Regions from separate parts of the Homo sapiens genome. Here regions 2, 3, 4 and 5 are each linked to region 1. The links are contacts of gene promoters, found by promoter capture Hi-C in blood cells and fetal thymus (Javierre and others, 2016). All regions are on one chromosome and are shown on one strand. The core of a region is centred on a gene start or on the middle of the fragment in contact, and the rest is flanking DNA. Distances in the headings are between cores, read along the strand shown.

Region 1 (4,100 bases), core at 1,341-3,840:
AAATAAAAAAACATAATAAATAATAATAATAATAAAAAGAGTGGCAGACTTCAACTCAGGACTGCTTTGGTTCATCTCCTGGCTCTATCATTCACTATCTGCATGAACTTAGGCAAGTTTGTTAACTTCTCTATCCCTGCAAAATGAACAGTAATTAGAATAATAATCCTAATCTACATGTAAAGCATTTAAAACAGTGCACAGTAACTGTTCTGTAACTGTTCTATAAATGTCAGTACTTATTACTGTGAAGAAACAGATATTCCAGCACCTTAACAAAGTACACATAATTTACTGTAGGTAAGGCTGGGTCCAGCTTCAGGTCTTGACTCTGTAAGTAGTAACTCCAGAAGTTTTGTCTTTGGAAAAAAATACTTTACAAAATAACAGCAGCCAAAATTAACATTTAGCTAGCACTGAAAATTTACAAAGCACTTTCATATACATCATCTCAATAAAACACTACATAACCCTCCAACTGGTAATTGCCACTTGACAAATGAAGAAACTGAGGTTCAGAGAAGTTTGGAAATGTGAACATTGACAATTTCTATTTCTGAACAGTTTTGTGCCATATACCATAGTTAAGAACCTATGCTAAGAATTATGCTGAACACCTAAAGTAGATGTTTTTTACCCCATTTAAAAAAGACACTAAAGTTAAAGGACTTGTCCAAGGTCACATTAACATGTAACAAAGATAAAACTATAACCAAACTTTCCTCTATGCCATCCCCTGATATCTCATTCTATCAAACTGCTGTTTTGTTATTTGTCTGTCTTTTCTTGAAGGTGTTAAGTTCCTTTTACTTTTCCTTAATCACTGATTAGAGACGCACATTTCCATCATTTCGAGCTTAGATATTTTGGTTCTATCCTAAGAGTGAAAAAATGAGAAAAAAAAATGTTTTTTAAATCAAAGCTGGCCTTAGGCTGGGTGTGGTTGCTTGTGCCTATACAATCCCAGCACTTTAGGAGGCCGAGGTGGGCAGATCACTAGAGTCCAGGAACTTGTGACCAGCCTGGGCAATGTGGCAAAACCCTGTCTCTACAAAAAATACAAAAAATTAGCTGGGCATGATGGCACCCACCTGTAGTCTCAGCTACTCGAGAGGTTGAGGTGGGAGGATACTTGAGCCCAGGAGGCTGAGGCTGCAGTGAGCCATGATCATACCATTGCACCCCAGCCTGGGCAACAGAGCAAGACTTATTTTCTCTCTCTCTCCACATATATGTATATATCAAAGTTGGTCTTTACACACAACTTTTATTTAAATGCATGGCCAATTCAAGTAGCAGTTCTTAATTCCTTCTATAAGATTTTAAAGTAATCTGAGGCCTAAAAATTTTAAGTCTATTTTTTGTTTGGAAGACATGACAATAAATCTGCTCCCTCCTCCCATAACATATGTATTAATCCTTTGATTTACATTCTACTTAGAGTTTGACAATGAACCTGAAGTTGACCCTTCCCCCAAATTTACTGGGCCCTTATGAGGGCCAACTATAAATGTATAATATACTAACAAATACTTTGGTTACTTAGTGTATACTCATGTAAGTGTATACTCATACATTTTTATATATTAAGTCCAGGCTCACTCAATATATACAAGTGTATCAGTATAAGCCTTATTGGGAGATAGTCTATTTAAGATAAGATCTCTCTGGATAGGATACAAAAAGGCAATCGCCATTCCCTATGGACACACTTCAAAGGGGGAAGCTTTCAGCTTGGTTTTTGAATATATATAACCAACTCATTAAGGCTGTGTCAGCTCCTCATTAGCACTCAACTCAGAAAGGGTTTCTTGACTACCTCATGAAATAAGGGGTTTTGATAACTATCCCCCAGGAGTATAAAATAGCTTTCCTATTTACTGGAGAAAGCCACAAAATTAGACTTGTAAAATAGGACAAAGCACCCTTTCATTTTCCAAGTCACTTGGTTGGTGTAAAATTTCCATTCTTCTGCTCCTCAGATCATTAATGAACAAGGGATGCGTTTCAAAGGGTTTAAACAAGCAGACCTGAAAATTCTGTTCAGCTTAGTGTATGAAAATCAGATGTTAGATAGCTTTCTTCCCAGGAGGCTGGGGAACGCTCAGCACCTACCAAGGCTTCCTTCCCTACAGTTAGGACTGAGGTGTAGGCTTCCAGATACACTCGACTGCAGCGTCTAACAACTTCCAGGCCCTTGACTGTGATGTCCTTGGCATCTCCCAGGCCCAACCCGATGAGATAAAGCATTTCAAACTTGAGGAGAAGAGAGACTGCAAGACGAAGTGGACAGAAAAACCGTCAGTAACACCGAGGACATCTAAAATCTAGTGATGAACACGATGACAACCAAAGTAGCACAAGAGAAGAGGCAAGTCACAAGGAGGGGTTTGGGAACCTTATGTCACGCTTAAGAACTGGGATAAGAGGTTTTAAACAACCCTACCAGTTTTGCCTCTTGTTACACAAACCTAGGAGCAGCCAATTACCCGCTGAGAGAATCGTAGGTAGTTCTCTGGCCTTTACAAATTCTTAACTACCACCTTTCCGCAGAAGCAACTGCAAAAGCGCCGGCTCCGTGCAGAGAAAAGGCCCACGCCGCCGGCCTCACCTACGGTGCCGCAAAATGCTGGTGCCTTTACTGCACTTTACGACTAGCGGGAGGGGGCCGGGCTAGCGGGCTACTGGGCTGCGGAGACCAGAGCCCGGCTCCACTGAAGAAACCCGCCGGCTGCTGGGGCAGGGCGGCGAAAGGTCAGTCGGCCGAGAGGAGTCCGTGGAGCCACCGTTTCATAGCCTCAGGGAAAGGATCGGGCGTGCTCACGAGCCCTCTAACCCATGGCTTAAACACCCGCTTCCTAAGCCTGGGTAAGTGCAGTAGCTCTTCGCTCGAGAGGAGCCACGTGGAAGAGAGTCGGGAGGGGCCCTGCGCCCTACTCCTCCTCTCCAGAAACAGGGAGGGCTGGGAAGGATTTTCCTGATTTGTCCCCGGATTTGGCCGAGTGCACAGATTTTAATTCCAGTCTTCTCATCCTCCTGTAGTTCAACTAGGTGTCTTCCTGGTGAAGCGTGAGATTGGCAAACCCAGCAGTGAGTGTGCTTCTGATTTCCCAACAAGGCAATGACTCCTTGGGTTTGTCCCCAAGACCTTATGCCTGGAGTGCCCCAAGGATGTTTCAGTCACCCTCAGTGTCAGGAATCCCAGACCTTCCTGTACCTAAAGAAGTGACCTTTAATAGTGCTCAGGGATTTCAGACCTCTCAAGTGTTTCTGCCGGGGGAATTCTTATAAAGCTGTTGGTTACATGTAATTAGAAATAGGGAAGATTTGTTTTGACTGAAAATGCTCTTCCCAAGGTGACCTCATCCAAGTTAAAAAAGACAGCTGTCATTGCTTTTCTTAGCAGGCAGTGTTGGTTACTCAGAATTTTCCTGTTGCCTCCCCGACAATGCCCAACTCCGCTTCCTTGAACCTTGGCTTTTTTTCATTCCCAGGTTCCATCCACCTTTTTGCACTTCCTATCTATAAACTCTTCGTGGCTGTGTTTTATCCCCTCTCATTACGTTGATCTATTCCTCACACCACATACACACCCCAAAAAACTCAAAATGGATCGTAGATGTAAATGGAAAACCTAAACCTATACCAGAAGAAAACATAGGAGGAAATATTCGTGACCTTATTTAGGCAAATATTTCTTAAACCAAAAGCGTGATGAAAAAAATTGATAAATTGGACTTCAACAAAGTAAAAATTTATGCTCTTCAAAAGACTTGAAGCCACATACTGAAAATATTTACAAAGCATGTATCTGATGAAGGACTTGTATGGAGAATATATAAGGAGCACTCAGAAAGCAATAATAAAACAGTTCGTTGTTTAAAAATGGGCAAAAGATTTGAATAGACACCAAAGAAGATACACAAATAGCAAATAATTATTTTAAAAGATCTTAAACAAACAAAAAAAGATCCTAAACATCATTAGACATTAGGAAAATAAACATTTAAATCACAATGAGCTACCACAACCCACCTATTAGAATGGCTTAAGTAAAACAAACAAAACCTCACAAAAACTGGCTGTTCACTCAGAATTCC
Region 2 (4,252 bases), core at 1,143-3,642, 110 kb before region 1:
CTTGAACCCAGGAGGCGGAGGTTGCAGTTAGCTGAGATCACGCTACTGCACTCCAGCCTGGACAATAGAGCTAGACTCTGTCTAAAAAAAAAAAAATTTCTAACTACTCTATTGAGATATGATTGACATATGAAAACAGATAAATATTTAATGTATACAACTTGATGAGTTTGAGGTAAGTATGCACCCATGAAACCATCACTATGATTTCTCCAATAAACATATCCGTTCCCACTGAAAGTTTCCTCCTACTCTCAATTCTTTCTTTTCTTTTTTCTTTTCTTTTCTTCTTTCTTTCCCTCCCTCCCTTCCTCACTTCTTTTCTTTTTTCTTTTCTTTTCTTTCTTTTCTTTCTTTCTTTCTTTCTTTCTTTCTTTCTTTCTTTCTTTCTTTCTTTCTTTCTTTCTTCCTTTCTTTCTTTCTTTCTACTTTTGCAGTAAGAGCACTTAACATAAGATCTACACTCTTGGCAGATTTTTAAGTATACAATACAGTATTAGCTATGGGCACTATGCCATACAAATCCCTAGGACCTATTTATTTTGCACAACTGAAACTTTGTACCCTTTGACTAATATTTCCCCTTTTCCAACTTCCTCCAACCACTGGCAACCACTATTCTATTCTCTGTTGCTATGAGTTTGACTATTTTAGATTCCTTATATAAGTGATATAAATGTAGTATTTGTCCTTCTGTGTCTGGCTTATTTCACTTAGCATAATGTCCTTCAGGATCATTCATGTGTCAAAATTAGAAGGATTTCTTTCTTTCTTTAAGGCTGAATGATATTCCGTTGTATGTATATACCACATTGCTTTATCCATTCATCTGTTGATGGACATTTAGCTTGCTTCCATGTCTTGGCTATTGTGAATAATGCTGTAGTGAATACGGAAGTGCAGATATCTCTTTGAGCTCTTGATTTCAATTCTCATGGATATATACCCAGTTTGCTGATCATACGGTAGTTCCATTATTGTTTTTTTGAGGACCCTCCATACTGTTTTCCATAGTGTCTGCACCAGTTTACATTGCCACCAGTAGTATACAAGGGTTTCCTTTTCTCTACAGCTTTCCCAACACTTACTGTCTTTTGCTTTTTTGGTAATAGACATCCTAACAGGTATGATATGATATCTTATTGTGATTCTGATTTGCATTTCCCTGATGATTAGTGATGTTGAGCATCTTTTAATGTACCTGTTGGCTATTTGTATGTCTTCTTTGGAGAAATGTCTATTTTATTCCTTCGGCCATTTATTACTTTTTTATTTTTTTAATAAATTTTTTTATTTTTAATTTTTGTGGGTACATAGTAGCTGTATATTCTTATTATTTATTTATTTATTTATTTTTGAGATGGAGTCTCGCTCTGTCACCCAGGCTGGAGTTCAGTGGTGCGATATCGGCTCACTGCAACCTCTGCCTCCCGGGTTCAAGTGAATCTCCTGCCTCAGCCTCCCGAGTAGCTGGATTACAGGCGTGTGCCACCACACCCAGCTAACTTTTTGTATTTTTAGTAGAGACGAGGTTTCACCGTGTTAGCCAGGATGGTCTCAATCTCCTGACATCGTGATCCACCTGCCTTGGCCTCCCGAACTGCTGAGATTACAGGTGTGAGCCACTGTGCCCAACCAGTAGGTGTATATTGTTATGGGGTACATGAGATGTTTTGATACAGGCATGCAGTGTGAAATAATCACATCATGGAGATGAGGTATCCTTCTCCTCAGGCATTTATCCTTTGTATTACAAACAATCCAGTTACACTCTTTTAGTTATTTTGAAAGGTACAATTAATATTGACTGTAGTCACCCTGTTGTGCTATCAAATAGTAAATCTTATTCATTCATTCTTTTTTTTTTTTTTTTTTTTTTGTACCCATTAACCATCCTCACTCCTGCAGCACCACACTACCCTTCCCAGCCTCTGGTAACCATCCTTCTACTCTCTGCTTCCATGAGTTTAATTGTTTTGAATTTTTGTACTCCACAAATAAGTGAGAACATGCAATGTTTGTCGTTCTGTAACTCTTTGACCATTTTAAAATCAGGTTATTTATTTACCTTTGCTGTTGATTGTGAGTTCTGTATATATTTTATCAGATACATAGTTTGCAAATATTTTCTGTCATTCTGTAAGTTGCCTTTTCATTTTGTTATTTGGTTCCTTTGCCTTGCAGAAGCTTTTTAATTTGATGTAATCCTTCTTGTCTATTTTTGCCTGTTGCCTGTGTCAGTCTCTAAAATATCCTGTATTTTTATAACAGTTACACTGGTATGCTTTAAAACCTTGCTTTTCCAACTTTTTTGCTCACATGCATCCCAAAATAATGTTGAAAAACTGCATATCTCTTACACTTTTGGCTATCAGCTGGATTTTTCAGGGTAGCTACTTCTTCATTCCCATACAGCAGTACAATATCTAGATAGGAAATATTATATGGTGTTATGCTTTTATATTTCTTTGTTACATTATTGCAGAACATTGTTATAATGCTCTATCAAAGCTGTACTGATAAGGGTACCTTGACCTTTTTGGTGCTGTGGGCCATGAACAAATGATGATAGTAGGTACATTGTTAGTTGTGATCAGAAAGCTTGTCAGTCTTCCTGATGATCTGTTTAAACAAATATTGCTCATCTTTTGCCTTGTTTTCCTATATTTTCTGTTTTAATGTTAAAGCTGAATAGTAATTTTCAAGATGTTTAGAGATAGAAATTATAGCATTTTGTCATCATAAAAGCAAAATGAAAAAAATTATTTTTATCTCTTCTGTATCAAGAGTTTGCCACATTAATCTAGAAGCTGTTGAAAACTACTGTTTACCATAGTCAAGTTATCTTTCTATCCTGGCTTCATTTCTTGGACCTCATAACTTCAAGCAGTACATTTGGGTTTCTCTGAATTTTCCAATTGTAAGAGTATTAAAAGATATTTTATGAATACTGGAAGATTTTCACAATGTCTTTAATTTCCTGTGCTTTTAATCTTTTTAATACAATAATTTCTGAAATACTCCATACTTTTGATGAATTTTAAAACTACTGCCACTAAATTTACCTCCACTCAATTATTTTATTAAATTTAAAAAATAAATTTGTAAGTTTGATATGGCTATATAGCCATGCATTCTTGATGATGCATTTGAATGAAAAGGACTCTGAATTGTAAAAACTTGAATGAGGAATTGAAAACATGTTTTAAAATAACTTAATTCTCTACAGATGGCCCGTCCTTAAAAGAAACAACAGGACCCAGCAGACAGATTTTACAAGGTATGACAAGCAATTTTTATGTTTCTTAGTTTTTTGAAACTGCTTTTATAGTTTTGAAGTTTTAGTTGTCTGAAGTTTTCCTTTAAGAAAAATATAAAACATAGTGTTTGTGTTTAGTGTTAGCCTTTCTAGTGATTGTTTTTTATATACTATTAGATATATTAGCAGACATTCTTTTAATTGTCACTTGACTGTTTTCTCTGATTTGATAATAAAAGCAAAATATAGAGCTGGGTGCACTTGGCATGTCCCCACAATCCCAGCTACTCAGGAGAATTGCTTGCTTGCGCCCAAGAGTTTGAGACCACCCTGGGGAACATATGAGACTCGTATCTCAAAAAGATTCGGAAACTATTCTGCTTGAATATAAGTAATACCCATGCCTGTGACTATAAACATTGTATAGATGCTTCTTGATTTACTGTGGGGTTGTGTCCTAATAAACCCGTGGTAAATTGAAGATACTGTAGGTTGAAAATGCATTTAATACACCTAACCTACCGAACATCATAGTTTTGCCTTGCCTACCTTAAATGTGCTCAGAACACTTGCATTAGCCTACAGTTGGGCAAAATCATCTAACACAAAGCCTATTTTATAATAAAGTGTTGAATATCTCATGTAATTTATTTAATACAGTCCACTGTAGAGTACAGTATCAGTTGTTTACCCTTGTGATTGCTTGGCTGACTGGGAGCTGCCGCCTGCTGTTGCTGCCCAGCATCATGAGAGATGATCATAGCACATTATTGCCAGCCCAGGAAAAGATCAAAATTCAAAATTTGAAGTATAGTTTCTACTGAATGCATACTGCTTTCACACCATCATGAAGCCAAAGTCATAAGTTGATCATTTTAAGTCGAGGACTGTCTGTAGGAGTATGTTTGCTTTTACAGGATTATTATGTAGTTTTTCCAAGAATAATATTTAATATGTTTTTATGTTGTGGGAAAATTTAGAGCTAAAGATTTA
Region 3 (4,325 bases), core at 615-3,114, 89 kb before region 1:
TATAATATTTTCCTAAGAAACTATTTAAACTATCTCTTTGTGTAAATGGAAGAAGCAGAACACATCTAGTGAGGATACACATAGATTATCTGTATCTATATCAATACCTATATATATATATATTTATATATATAAATGTATGTAGGAATGCTTGTGTAGCTCTTCATTTTTGCTTAGCATTTTACATGTTCTTGTAATTTGTTTACCTTCTCAGTATTGCTGAGAAATAAATCAATGTTAAAAGCAAATAAAAATCTGCTATTACTACCTACAGACATACTATGTACCCATGTAAGAAACTGCTCAATTGCAAGTTTTTGTCAATAATTCAGAACATCTGTGGGAAGATCGCTTGAGCTTGGGAAGTCGAGGCTGCAGTGAGTCGTGATCACGCCACTGCCACTGCACTCCAGCCTGGGTGACAGACCAAGACTCTGTCCCACAAAAAGAAAAAAAAATTCAGTGCCATGATTTTCTATTTTTAGCTCATATTTGAAGCTTCAAACTATTTGTGTTTAATATATGCTAATCAAAGCCTTCCCACTACAAATTTAGCTCATTTATTTTTAGAAATACCCTCTATATAACCTAATTGTCAGAACTAGCCTTCATTGTCAACCCAATCAGTCAAATCATACTTTCAGAGAAAGTTCTTTCTGTCAGAGAAAGTCTTGCTTCATTTTTCAGTTACACAAATGACAACCGTCTTTTGACTGCATCAAAACCTGGGTTCCTCACATAGTACTTTTTATAGGCATGAATTCTAGTATGTTTCTAATAGTTACATCCAGTGCTTTATGCAAGTCAGTTTAAACTTTTCAGAAACCAAAACTAGTTCTTTTTACGATTTTTGCTACAATCTGGTGAAGTGTGTCTTCTGCCATTTTATGCATTTTATGAAGCAGAGTGGTTTTGGAATAGGGAATGGAGCTATAGTGATAGACTTGGTGACTAACTTATTTTTGGCTATCACCTATGCACTGGAATAATCACTATCAAATGTGATTTCTTAACTATCATAGTGAGTGACAATACTTTATATGAGGTTTTTAAAGCCAACTTTGATGATGGCTTGGAATTGTTCAAGCTGTTTACTGTTTTTTAACCAATACTCCCAGCTTTCCTCTAAAAAAAATTAATAGCTTTATTTTAAGGTCTGTATATTGTGTAAATAAATGACATTAAAGAGATACGGGTTTTTACTATTGTTTGACAAAGGTTTCTTGGGACTTCTCTCAGGAGTGACATATTCTTTGTCAGTATCTGGGGGACAATAGAAGAGGGATTATTACTAAACCTATCATTACTTTAGTCATCCCACTTTACAATATGTCTGAACTCAGAACGTTCCTAATATATGGGCCAGAATACCTTGTTCCTAATACCACTCTTTGCCCTTAATAGGAATTACATAAAACAGAGAAGCCATAAAACTATACCTCAGGTTTATGAGCAGAGACAAAGGGTTTTATTAAAGGCTTACCAGATACCAATATTTTAAATTGTCTTCTTTTCATTTTTCTTTTTTTTTTTTCTACTCCAGTGATTTTCAAACTCTGGCACAGTTTACCATAGTAGTATTTTCTATGGGTGAATTACATGCTTTTCTTTTGTCAAGCGGCTGAAGTGGTAATTGTGAAATGGGAGGGGAGCAATAGAGAACTTACTAATTTACTAGACCAATTGTCTCAGTCTGGTGTCTGGTCAGTTTTGGAATGAGTACCTATGGAAGTGGAGGATCTGATATTTTATTCTCTTATAACTATTCTAAACATCTTTCAGAAAGTATATGGGTATCCCCAAGGGTATTTTTTTGTGATTAATGTCACCAGAATTGTGAAATGTAGTACACACTCCTATATGTACTCTTAATTTGAAGACTCCTGCCCTAAGTCTCAGTGGTACCAAATTGTTTGCACTTTTTAGAGCATGTTAAGTTAGCTTATACCTCTGTATCTCTGCTCATCAAGTATCTTTTCCTTAGAAAATCTTGCCTACTAATGTCTACCTTTTCAAAATAATTGTGATAAGCATAATATAAAATTTACCATCTTAATCACTGTTAAGTATACAGTTCAGTGGCATTAAGTACAGTCACATTGTTGTGCTGCCATCACTGCCATCCATCCACAGAACTCTTTTCATGTTGCAGAACTGAAATTCTGTAACCATTAAGCAATAACTCCCAATTCACCCTGCACCTCAGCCCCTAGCAACCACTATTTTTTCTGTCTCTATGAAGTTGTGAAATATATAAGTGGTACCTTATAAAAGTAGAGTCATACAATATTTGGCCTTTTGTGACTAGTTTATTTCACTTACAATAATGTCCTCAAGTTTCATTCACTTTGTAGTATATGTCAGAATACCCTTTCTTTTTAAGACTGAATGATTCCACTTCTGAATATTTACTTATACACATAGATTTAGTATATTTACTCATACTCATACACATAGATTATCTGTATCTATATCTATATCTATGCATGTAGGAATGCCTGTGTAGCTCTTCATTTTTGCTTAGCATTTTACATGTTCTTATTATTTATTTACCTTCTCAGTATTCCTAAGAAATAAATCAATGTTAAAAGTAAATAAAAATCTGCTATTACTACCTGCAGACATACTATGTACCCATGTAAGAAACTGCTCAATTGCAAATTTGTGTCAATAATTCAAAACATCTGTGGGAGGTTTTGAATTATTTATTTAAACATCTGAGTATTTACTTGGAAGTGGAATTGCTGGATCATATGGTAATTCTGTTTTTAATTTTTTGAGAAACTGCCATGCTCTTTTCCATAGCTGCCACACCAGTTTACATTTTCACCTACAATGCAGAAGGGTTGTAATTTCTCCACATGCTTTCCAAAACTTGTTATTTTCTGTTTTGTTTTGTTTTTGTTTTTATTTTTGTTTTTTGTTTCTGTTTTTATCTACCAGAAAACCCATTAACGTAATGCGTATCAAGTGGTCTTATTGTTTTGATTTGCATTTCCCTAATGATTACTGATGTTGAACATTTTTTCTTGTACTTATTGGCCATTTTGTATATCTTTGGGAAAATGTCTATTCAAATACTTTGTCCATTTTTAAATTGTTTGTTGTTGTTGAATTGTGGGTGTTCTTTATATATTCTGGATATTAACTCTTTATCAGATGTATAATATGCAGATATTTTCTCTTTTTCCATGATTTGCCTTAATTTTCATGTTTTTTCTTTTGTTTCCTAAGCTTTTGGTGTCATATCTGAGAAATCAACCAAACCAATGTCATGAAGCTTTCTCCTATGTTTTCTTCTAAGAGTTTTATAGTTTTAGGTCTTACATTTTATTCTGAGTTAATTTTTATATATGGTGTGAGGTAAGGGTCCAGCTTCCTTCTTTTGCATGTAAAAATCCAGTTTTCCCATCACCAGTTATTGAGAAGTCTGTCCTTTCCCCATTGAATTGCCTTGGCATCTATGTTGAAAACCATTTAACCATGTATGTCAGAGTTTATTTCTGGGCTGTCTGTTCTATCCCAGTGGTCTATATGTCTGTTTTTATGTCAGTGCCACACTGTTTTTATTGCTTTGTAGTAACTTGAAATTAGGAAGTGTGAGACCTGCAACCTTGTTCTTTTTCAAGATTGTTTTGACTATTATGGGTTTCTTGAGATCCCATAGGAATTTTAAGATAGATTTTTCTATTTCTAGAAAAAAATGTCACTGGGATTTTGATAGGTAGCTAATGTCTACCTTTTGAATACCTCTTATAAAATTCATCTCAAGGGGCATCTCCTTTGTGAAGCCTGTTGTAAACTACTATATAGAATTAACTGTTTTTTTATTTTGTCCCCTAAGCATTTCTAACATCTATCACACTTCGTTAAACTTACTTGTTTCTTTTTACTAGACTGAAGAATTGCCATGTGTATTAGTTTTCTGTTGCTGCATAACACATTGCCACAATTTTTCCAGCTTAAAACAATGCTCATTTATTATCTCACAGTTTCTGTGATCAAGAGTCTGGGCACAGCTTAGTTGTCTCCTCTGTTCAGGGTCTCACAGGACTGCAACTGAAGTGTTGGTTGGGGCCATAGTTTCATCTGAGGCTCAGGACCATCTTGCAAGCTTATATGGCTGTTGGCAGAATTTGTTTCATTATAGCTGTGTAACACATAGCAGCTTACCTTTCCAAGGTCAGCAAGAGAGCATCTGATCTCAGGGAGAGCTCCAGTCTATCTGTTAAGGGCTTTGCATCTGATTAAATCAGGCTTACCTGGAATAATGTCTCTGTCTCTCAATTTCAGCTTTTATTTTAGATAGAAGGGGTACATGTGCA
Region 4 (4,172 bases), core at 1,142-3,641, 120 kb before region 1:
TTATATACTGTTTTTCATTGTGTTATGTCTTCTAGCTAGATTTGAAATCTAGCTCCAGTGCATGTTGTACTTAGTTCATTTAGCACGTATCCGTCATCTCATGCCTATTTATGTTAATCTCCAGATCTACAACCAATTATTCTTAAATATTAATTTTTAATACAGATCTCTTGTCATTGATATTTGGGCAGATTTAGGCATTTCTCTGGCCTTTTAATAATCTGGCTTTCTGTGTTTTATTTAGACACCAAAATTTTTAGTTCCTTTTGTTGACTGATCAATAATTTCTTTATATGACCAGAAGATTATCTGTGTTCCTGTAGGTTATATTAGCTTTTCAGTTCCTTGATTAAATTTCTTCCAAAACTCATTTTGTGTATTAGTCAATTCCTTGTTGAATTTCATTCTGTAAAAATAAATTTCAACTTGTTGAGAACATGAAATAACCAAGAATTTTTTTCCTATAGAGGACTGAAACGTGAATAAAACACTCACTTCACAAATAAAGGTTCATAGAAGCAGTTGATCTAATTTTAACAAATGTTAAATTGTTCTGGTTCTTTTTCAGAGCCTTCATTTTAAAGGAAGAACTTAATTATAGTTGATTTATATTTTAGATGATGAGTAGGTCTCTTCAGTGGAACAATAGGTAGTTGTTGTGTGTTTTTCCCCTCAATAAATATCTGCTACCTTTCACCTTCCCACTAGAACGTAAACTGTATTAATGTAGGGATCTTTTCTATCTTATGCAGGCACTTCAGTACATAGCACATAGTGGATGCTTAATACATATTTGCTAAATGAAAGAATGAGGGAATAATTAATGTATGGAATTACACTACCTATACTAAAAATGGTAACTACCCCGTTAAGGAAAAACAGCAATGACAAAACATTAAATTCCATTCTCTCACTCTTAGAAATTGGGAGGAAAATGGTAGAAATTCTATGTGATTTTTCCCTTCCTTCTAGTATTTTATTTTTCATTTACTAATTTATTGTTGAGTAACTGACTAATCTCAAGGTAACATAGTGTAACAATGTGGTTTTGTATCATCTACGGTTAAGTTTGTTTTCAAGTTACAGAAAAACTCTGCACACCTGTAATCTCAGCTACATGGAGGCTGAGACACCAGCATCCCTTGAACCTGGGAGGCAGAGGTTGCAGTGAGCCGAGATTGAGCCACCGCCCCACAGCCTGGGCAACAGAGTAATACTCTGTTTCAAAACAAAACAAAAACCTAAAATAATGGTTGCTTACACAAGATAAAACTTCATTTCCAAGATGGGTGCTAGTGTTTCAGTCATCCCTGGCAGCATAATGTCTGGAATGCAGATAAAAAGAGGTAAAAGGTGTGCACATTTTTTTTTTTTTTAAGATTTACCTGGATGCTAACACACAATGCTTTCACTAAAATTTTATCACATGGTCATGCCTAGTTGCAAATGTAGTCTTTATTCCACTCAGCCATGTATTCTGCGGAAAGTCAAGGATTTTTTACTAAGGAAGAAAGAGAATATGTGGATAGTGTAGGTTTTGGAAGTGGGACTTGAGAGAGAGAGAGAGAGAGACAAACTAACCTGTCATCTTCTATAGTTGGAAAATTGAGGCCTAGAGTTTTTTACTTCCCAAGTGAGCAGCAGAGCCTACAGCACCTATTGTCCAAGTTTGATGTCCAAAAAACATCACACTGGTTTTTTCTAGTATCTCAATATAGTTTCTGTGTTTTTATGTTCTTACATTTTTACTTCATTTTTAACAGATTTAATTTCAGTAGTATTTCTTACCAAAGCTGTTGCAACCATTTTTCCCTTAGACATAGAAGACACTCAGGTAACTCTAAAGGTTAATGTCTTTGTGTTAACAAAGTAAATATTTGTTGAAGAAATGTTTAAGACAATACCAGACATTTATTTGGTTCTACTTCAGTGTGATATTTCACAGCAGATGTTTGTAAAGTAATTCCTTAGTGAAGAAAAATACTTCTATCAATCACATGTTTTTCTATTAAAATTTTCATATATCTTAGTCTTTTAAAATCAACTTTTTCCTTCTCAAAAGGCAGCATTACTTACCAGCTTATGGTGATGGCTTTTGCTTTCCTATAATTTTATTTCCCACCTTAAAAACATAGATAAATATTCCATTTTGCTTAGAATTTTTTTTAAAGTAAGGGACTATATAATGGAATGTAGTGGAGTTCTGGGTTATTTCACTGTAACTCATTTAGTTTATTGACTTTGCTAATGTCAGGATTCTAAGAATTTTCTAATTTCCTGATAATAAATTGACAGTGTTTTTCCCTGACTTTCCACATCATGGAAAGTACCTGGTAAGGGATTTCTGAATTATGATGATTCCTTATTTTCAATTTTGAACACGTTTAACAAACAATATAAATATACCGTTAGCTTAGTTACCAATAGACCTTTTAAACAATTTTTTATCACTGGGTATTTTAAACATATGTAAAAGTAGAGCATTTAATGGACCTCATGTACCCATCACTGAGCCTTAACATTTATCAATACATGGTCTATCTTATTTCATCTGTTGTCCCTGTCCCACCATTGGATTGTTTTAAAGCAGACACAAGATGTAATTTCTTCCATAACTATTTCATTATGCTTCTCTAAAAGATAAAATCCACCCCCCCTTAACATAACCCAAAACCATTATCACCCATGAAAATTAATGACTCATTAATATCCAGCTAACGAGTATTCAGGAGTCCCTCATTGTCTCATAAATTCTTTTTACATTTGGTTTTACAGATTAGAAATCAAACAAGATCCATACATAGTATTTAGCTTATATGTCTCTTAAGTTGCTCTTAATTTATAGGTTCTCTTTCTCCCTTCCTTTGTTTTTGCCTCCAATAGACCCTAAATAAAATTCTTTTCAAAAGTTTCTTTTGCCATATATTCTATTGACATTTGTGCTGTTTTTGCTTCTGTATTTATGTATTCAGGTTTCTCCTTTATACACGTAGAAGTTTTCTTTTTCTTTTTTTTAAGACGGAGTCTTACTGTGTTGCCCAAGCTGGAATGCAGTGGCGCGATCTTGGCTTACTGCAACCTCTGCCCCCTGAGTTCAAGCAATCCTCCTGCCTCAGCCTCCCAAGTAGCTGGGAGTACAGCCACGCCTGGCTAATTTTTGTATTTTTAGTAGATGGGAGTTTCTCTATGTTGACCAGGCTGGTCTTGAACTTCTGACCTCAGGTGATCCACCCACCTCAGCCTCCGGAAGTGCTGGGATTATAGGCACGAGCCACTGCACCCGGCTGGTTTTCCATGTTAAAATGTCTTTAGAAGGTAGTCATTTAAAAGAGTTTACAAATACATTTTAGAGAAACTAGCAGTGCTTAAAGAGGAGTCTACGACAAGTAAGTGGATTTTCACAACCAGCTTTACTTTATCATGGTTTACTGAAGTTACCTTTGGTGTTTCAGTCATGTAACCTTAGGTATTCTCTATGCTACCTTTATTTTTTAAGGAAATTTATAGTTTAAATTTATAGTTTAAATATAATTCATAATCAGAAACATTTGCTAAGATTGAATATGAGCAGTAAAATTGACCTTCCTCATAAGCAATATTTTTACATGTGATAGGTCAGCAGAGAGCTAAAAGTAGACTGTTTTTCCCATGAGTTTGTGTATTTGCAGCTAGGTAATTTTTAAATCATGATATCAAGTTTAAGGGAAAAGATCTCATATTGCAGTGTTTTAAGAGAACATAATGTTCTTCCATCTCAGAAGAGGGAGTAGTTTTTCAGGTAGTCACATTTTATTAAGTACTAAAAATAACATTTTAATGCTAATTAAATTTACTTAAAATTTAAATAAAATTTCATTTTGATGAGTATTAAAATTGCCGTGCTATATCCACACCTCTTTAAAAGGAACCTGACTGCTATTCTGTGCAAAAGGAATTTTTATTTTTATTTTTATTTTTTGCATTATGGCAATATTTGGTTTATGTTGGGTGCATATAAAGTAAATTTGTTGAAAAAAAGGAGTGTGTGTTAGTTTGCTAGTCTGGTGTAATAAAACACCACAAACTAGGTGGCTTAAACCACAGAAATTTATTGTCTCACAGTTCTGGAGATTAGAAGTCAGAGATCAAAGTGTCATCAGGGTTGATTTCTTCTGAGAGCTCTGAGGAAGAAT
Region 5 (4,053 bases), core at 489-2,988, 83 kb after region 1:
ACTTTCTTTCTGTTTCAGAAGACCAGCATAACCTTGTCACCCAAATTCAAGGACATTATGAGAAGAGAAAATTACGAGGGAAACATTTTATTATCTCAATGATGCAGAAAAAGCATTTGATAAAATATAACATCCTTTTTTGATAAACCGAAAAATTGTAACTAGGAATATAAAGGAACTTCATTAATCTGATAAGGGTCTCTACAAAGAAACAATTAGCAAATATAATACCTACTGGAGATATGCCAAAAGCTTTATCTTTAATATCTGGAGGAAGGCAAGGATAATCACTATCACCACTTATATTCAGCCTTGTTCTAGAGGCCTGAGCAAGTGCAGTAGGGTGAAAAAAACATACACTAAAAATTTTTTTTTTATTATACTTTAAGTTTTAAGGTACATGTGCACAATGTGCAGGTTTGTTACATATGTGACATGTTGGTGTGCTGCACCCATTAACTCGTCATTTAACATTAGGTATATTTCCTAATGCTATCCCTCCCCACTCCCCCCACCCCACCACAGGCCCTGGTGTGTGATGTTCCCCTTCCTGTGTCCATGTGTTCTCATTGCTCAGTTCCCACCTATGGGTGAGAACATGCTGTTCTCACTCATAGGTCACATGTTCTAACACACACTAAATTTATAAGAGTGATATCCCTTTCCTATTCAGATATTGACCTGCAGAAAAATAAATCTTTTATAATTTAAAACAAAATAAAAAATGCTATTGAAATTACTCCTTAATCAGCTTAACAGGTTTTACTAGAAACATCCTACCTATGCCTGACTCACTGTAGAGAGTATAAACCAGACAGGAAGCAATGTGTCTTGCAGTGAATTAAAGATAAGCGAATAAAATCATCTTTTAAAAAGAACTAACTCACTGTTAAGGTCTTTTCTGATTATGGGCTATGTTCCATGGGTTTAGTAGTAATCATTACTTTATTTCAATTGTAGATTTACTTAGGAAATAAATAGTATTTTCTTATTGATTGAATGACTTAATTTATTCTGATGTTCAGCCAGGTTTCTTATCAAAAGTGGCAGAAACTAATTGGCTAACTGAAGTGAAGGGAATTTCTAGAGAAGGCTTCAGGGTCACAGAACTTAGAGGAGACTGGGGCATGGGAGGCTTGTAAATAGGCAGGAACCAAAAGGTCACCAGAGCCAAAAAGCATGAAGCAGCTGGGAGTTATTGCATCCACGCTGGATGGTCTGATCAGGGTGCCACCACCACTGCTGCCACCGTCCTCCAGTCCTGGCATCACTCATACCTACGAAGTGCCATGAGCAACCATCTGACTCACCTCACTCATGTGCTGGGCTGCCCAAGTCTTAGTTCTCACTTTAAGACTACACAGTTAATTCCCCAAGAAGAAACTGGCTAAGTGTCTTTTACATAGCAAGAAGCAGAAACATATGTTTTCGTCTTTTAAAAATAATTTTGAATTTTGTTAATGGCATAGGTTTTACTCAAGCATACATATCACAACATTAGAAGGGACTTTACTCTTCCTTTAGCCAAAACTCTTATGTTGAATTAGGCATTAAACAAGAAATAAAAGTGAGTATTGGCATTGAAGAGTGAAATATTAATATATGATGAACCTTTGTGAATAAGTCATGTGTGAAACAGCCTTGTCGGAATCAAAAGGTAAGAGTGCATTCCACATTCTTTGCAGAACTAGAGAAGAGTGTTGCATTCAGGTCATGACCCCGCCGTATTTTCAATTACCTAACTAGCCTCTTCACATGGTTTCCTACATCAATGCATTCAGTTTGGGGCGTTCTGAGGTTGAGCTCAAGCTCAATATGTATAAAACTGAACTCATCTCTTCCACACCTGCTACTTCTCCTGTTTTCCCAATATTGATAAATGCACCACTATCCAATCTAGTCACATAATCCAGAAACTCAGGATTCATAGATGATCATTCCATATCTTACCCTACACATGCTGTCATACCACTACATTCTGTCAATTCTTCCTCCATCTTGCTTTTTGAATGTGTGCCTTCCTCCCTTCCCTTTTGCTAATATCTTGGTTCAAATTCATGGTATCTGTATTTCTCACCACCCAACTTATCTTGCAGTTTAGTTTAATTTTAGTAGGTCCCATTGTTGCCAGTAAGCCAGTTCAGGTTCTTGTTTTTGCTTCACAAAATAATTTGAGAATGAGTCCAAAGTAAGAGTAAGCAAAGAAGTTTATTGCAAAGCAAAAGTGCACTTTGAGAGGCAGAATGGGTTACTCCAAGGGAGAGACAGCAGTTAGTGCCTTAGGAGGAATTTCTTTTATGGGAGTGGTACATACATATTCATAAAATACTGGTGAGGTCAAGTATGTAAAGGTAGACCTGCAGCTGGCACATGTACTCAGTATCTACATGCTTTAACAGGTATCACATGTAACATTAGCAAATAAAATCTCCACCTAGGGCTGTCTTTTTTACTATTAAAATGAGGAAAATGTTACTATTAATATAAGCTAAAACTTGACACTTGTTGCATATGTGGGATCCTGGAGAAGTCCCTGTCCCCCAACCTCCAGGCAGGAATTTGTAGCTAATAGCTTCTTGGGCTTTTGGTGCTGATTGGCTGGAGATGGGGGAAGCTACATCAGGAATATGGGGCTTCTGTTCTCTTTCCCGGGCCATCCTGGGTATCAGAAACTTGTAACCATCTGGTGGTCTGCTCATATAATGTAGGATCACCTATCTTGCAAAAGAGTTAGGTGCTGATGCACAAAGGTGCAGGTGAAAAGGACCCACTGGTGAAAGATGCCTGCTAGGCTTCACAAAAGGGGACAAATCTGTATGGCCTTCTACCCTCACCCTGCCTCACCATAGGATATCAAGTGTAGGCCATTAATTGCAGTGTCAGCCATATATCTCACGACTTATTCCCATTTTATCTGGGCTACCTAAATTCTGAATATATCCTCCATTTTCATGTAACTTAGCTTTTAATATGTTGCTGTTTAGTTAATCTTTCTACCTGCTTCAATCACTGCTGTCCTTCTTGTTTGCTTGGTAAACTTCTACTCCAAACTTCCAGTTTCAGTTTTACTGAATTTTCCCTGAAGACCTTCCCATATCAACCACCACCTTCCCAAGTAGACTCAAGCAAAGATTTCCTCTGAGCTCCCATAGCACCTGTACATACTTCCCTAGATCGCTTCCATACTCATTATTTGTTTATATGTCTGTTTTTCCTTTTGGACTGGAAGCTTCTTGAGTGCTGGGACTGTTGCTCGTTTACAGTTGTGTTTTCTCCCCTTAACACATGCATTTAGTGCCTGGTTCACCATAGGCAATGAAACATGATTGTTTAATAAATGAATGAAGCATGCATCATTGAATAGAGCATGTAGACAAAGATGAGACTGTAGAAAACTCCAGAAGTCAAGCTGAGGGAGTGCCTTTGTACCCTGACTGTGTCCTGCCTTTTACCCAAGCTGCACTCAAAATGGAGGAACTTCAGGAAAGTAGCCCTTATCAATCCCAGATTCTAAAACCTCTTCTCCCTTGTTTTCCCCAATTATTATTTCCTCATTGCATACCTAGACTACAAACTCTGCCTTCTGCTCCCATTTCTAGCCTAGAACTTGCCTCGGAAACACCTCACCGTGGATTTGGTCCATTCACCTGTGAGCCTCAGTGTTCCTCCTTACACACAGTTTATTCCGTCTTCTTCTTGCCATTTTATCTCAAGTGACTACATTCTGAGCCAGCCTTTGACCCCCCAGACTATGCTTCAGTGTTGGTTCTTATGTCCCACACTGCTTTGAGGGGTCAGGCCTAAAGGTAGGGAGAGATGTATAAGGCAGTGCCATGATAAATATCAGCCTAATTTCACGAGAGAAATAAAAGAGTCACGGGAGAGAGTCCAGAGTACCACCCTGACAATTTTATCTGAAAACATCTCTTTGTTTTAATGCCGCTTTTCATAGCCTAGTATACACATACCACATGAGTCCACACATGCATGCCTTCTTCCTTTCATTTATTTCTTTTGGCCTTTATTGAGCTCTTTCTGATCACCAATCACTAT

The links. The method cuts DNA at HindIII sites, captures the fragments that hold promoters and counts their contacts. A CHiCAGO score of 5 or more calls a contact.
Region 2: a contact is called between a fragment that was not itself captured here and the fragment with the promoter of DPH5 in region 1, in 6 of 17 cell types (activated CD4 T cells, non-activated CD4 T cells, total CD8 T cells and 3 more). The highest score is 11.2, in activated CD4 T cells.
Region 3: a fragment that was not itself captured here is called in contact with the fragment with the promoter of DPH5 in region 1 in 8 of 17 cell types (activated CD4 T cells, non-activated CD4 T cells, total CD8 T cells and 5 more); the score reaches 14.1 in activated CD4 T cells.
Region 4: a contact is called between a fragment that was not itself captured here and the fragment with the promoter of DPH5 in region 1, in 4 of 17 cell types (non-activated CD4 T cells, activated CD4 T cells, total CD8 T cells and 1 more). The highest score is 8.8, in non-activated CD4 T cells.
Region 5: a contact is called between a fragment that was not itself captured here and the fragment with the promoter of DPH5 in region 1, in 8 of 17 cell types (activated CD4 T cells, non-activated CD4 T cells, naive CD8 T cells and 5 more). The highest score is 16.0, in activated CD4 T cells.

Annotation. Positions count from the first base shown.
Region 1 is chr1:101,023,194-101,027,293 of GRCh38, forward strand. It overlaps DPH5 (diphthamide biosynthesis 5), which reads right to left and starts at 2,591. Exons shown (of 8, transcript NM_015958.3): 1 at 2,490-2,591; 2 at 2,116-2,273. The coding sequence starts at 2,250. It overlaps DPH5-DT (DPH5 divergent transcript), which reads left to right and starts at 2,653. Exons shown (of 5, transcript NR_109849.1): 1 at 2,653-2,868. RefSeq lists enhancers at 2,121-3,320, 2,413-2,522. The HindIII fragment of the contact is 3,765 bases long and covers 1,725-4,100 here.
Region 2 is chr1:100,914,848-100,919,099 of GRCh38, forward strand. It overlaps SLC30A7 (solute carrier family 30 member 7), which reads left to right. Exons shown (of 11, transcript NM_133496.5): 7 at 3,230-3,280. Among named protein-coding and RNA genes, the nearest start is that of SLC30A7, 21 kb to the left of the region's middle. The HindIII fragment of the contact is 414 bases long and covers 2,186-2,599 here.
Region 3 is chr1:100,934,561-100,938,885 of GRCh38, forward strand. All of the region lies in intron 8 of SLC30A7 (solute carrier family 30 member 7), which reads left to right. Among named protein-coding and RNA genes, the nearest start is that of SLC30A7, 41 kb to the left of the region's middle. The HindIII fragment of the contact is 2,736 bases long and covers 497-3,232 here.
Region 4 is chr1:100,898,458-100,902,629 of GRCh38, forward strand. All of the region lies in intron 2 of SLC30A7 (solute carrier family 30 member 7), which reads left to right. Among named protein-coding and RNA genes, the nearest start is that of SLC30A7, 4.5 kb to the left of the region's middle. The HindIII fragment of the contact is 6,699 bases long and covers 1-4,172 here.
Region 5 is chr1:101,107,113-101,111,165 of GRCh38, forward strand. No RefSeq gene overlaps it. Among named protein-coding and RNA genes, the nearest start is that of DPH5-DT, 83 kb to the left of the region's middle. The HindIII fragment of the contact is 2,977 bases long and covers 251-3,227 here.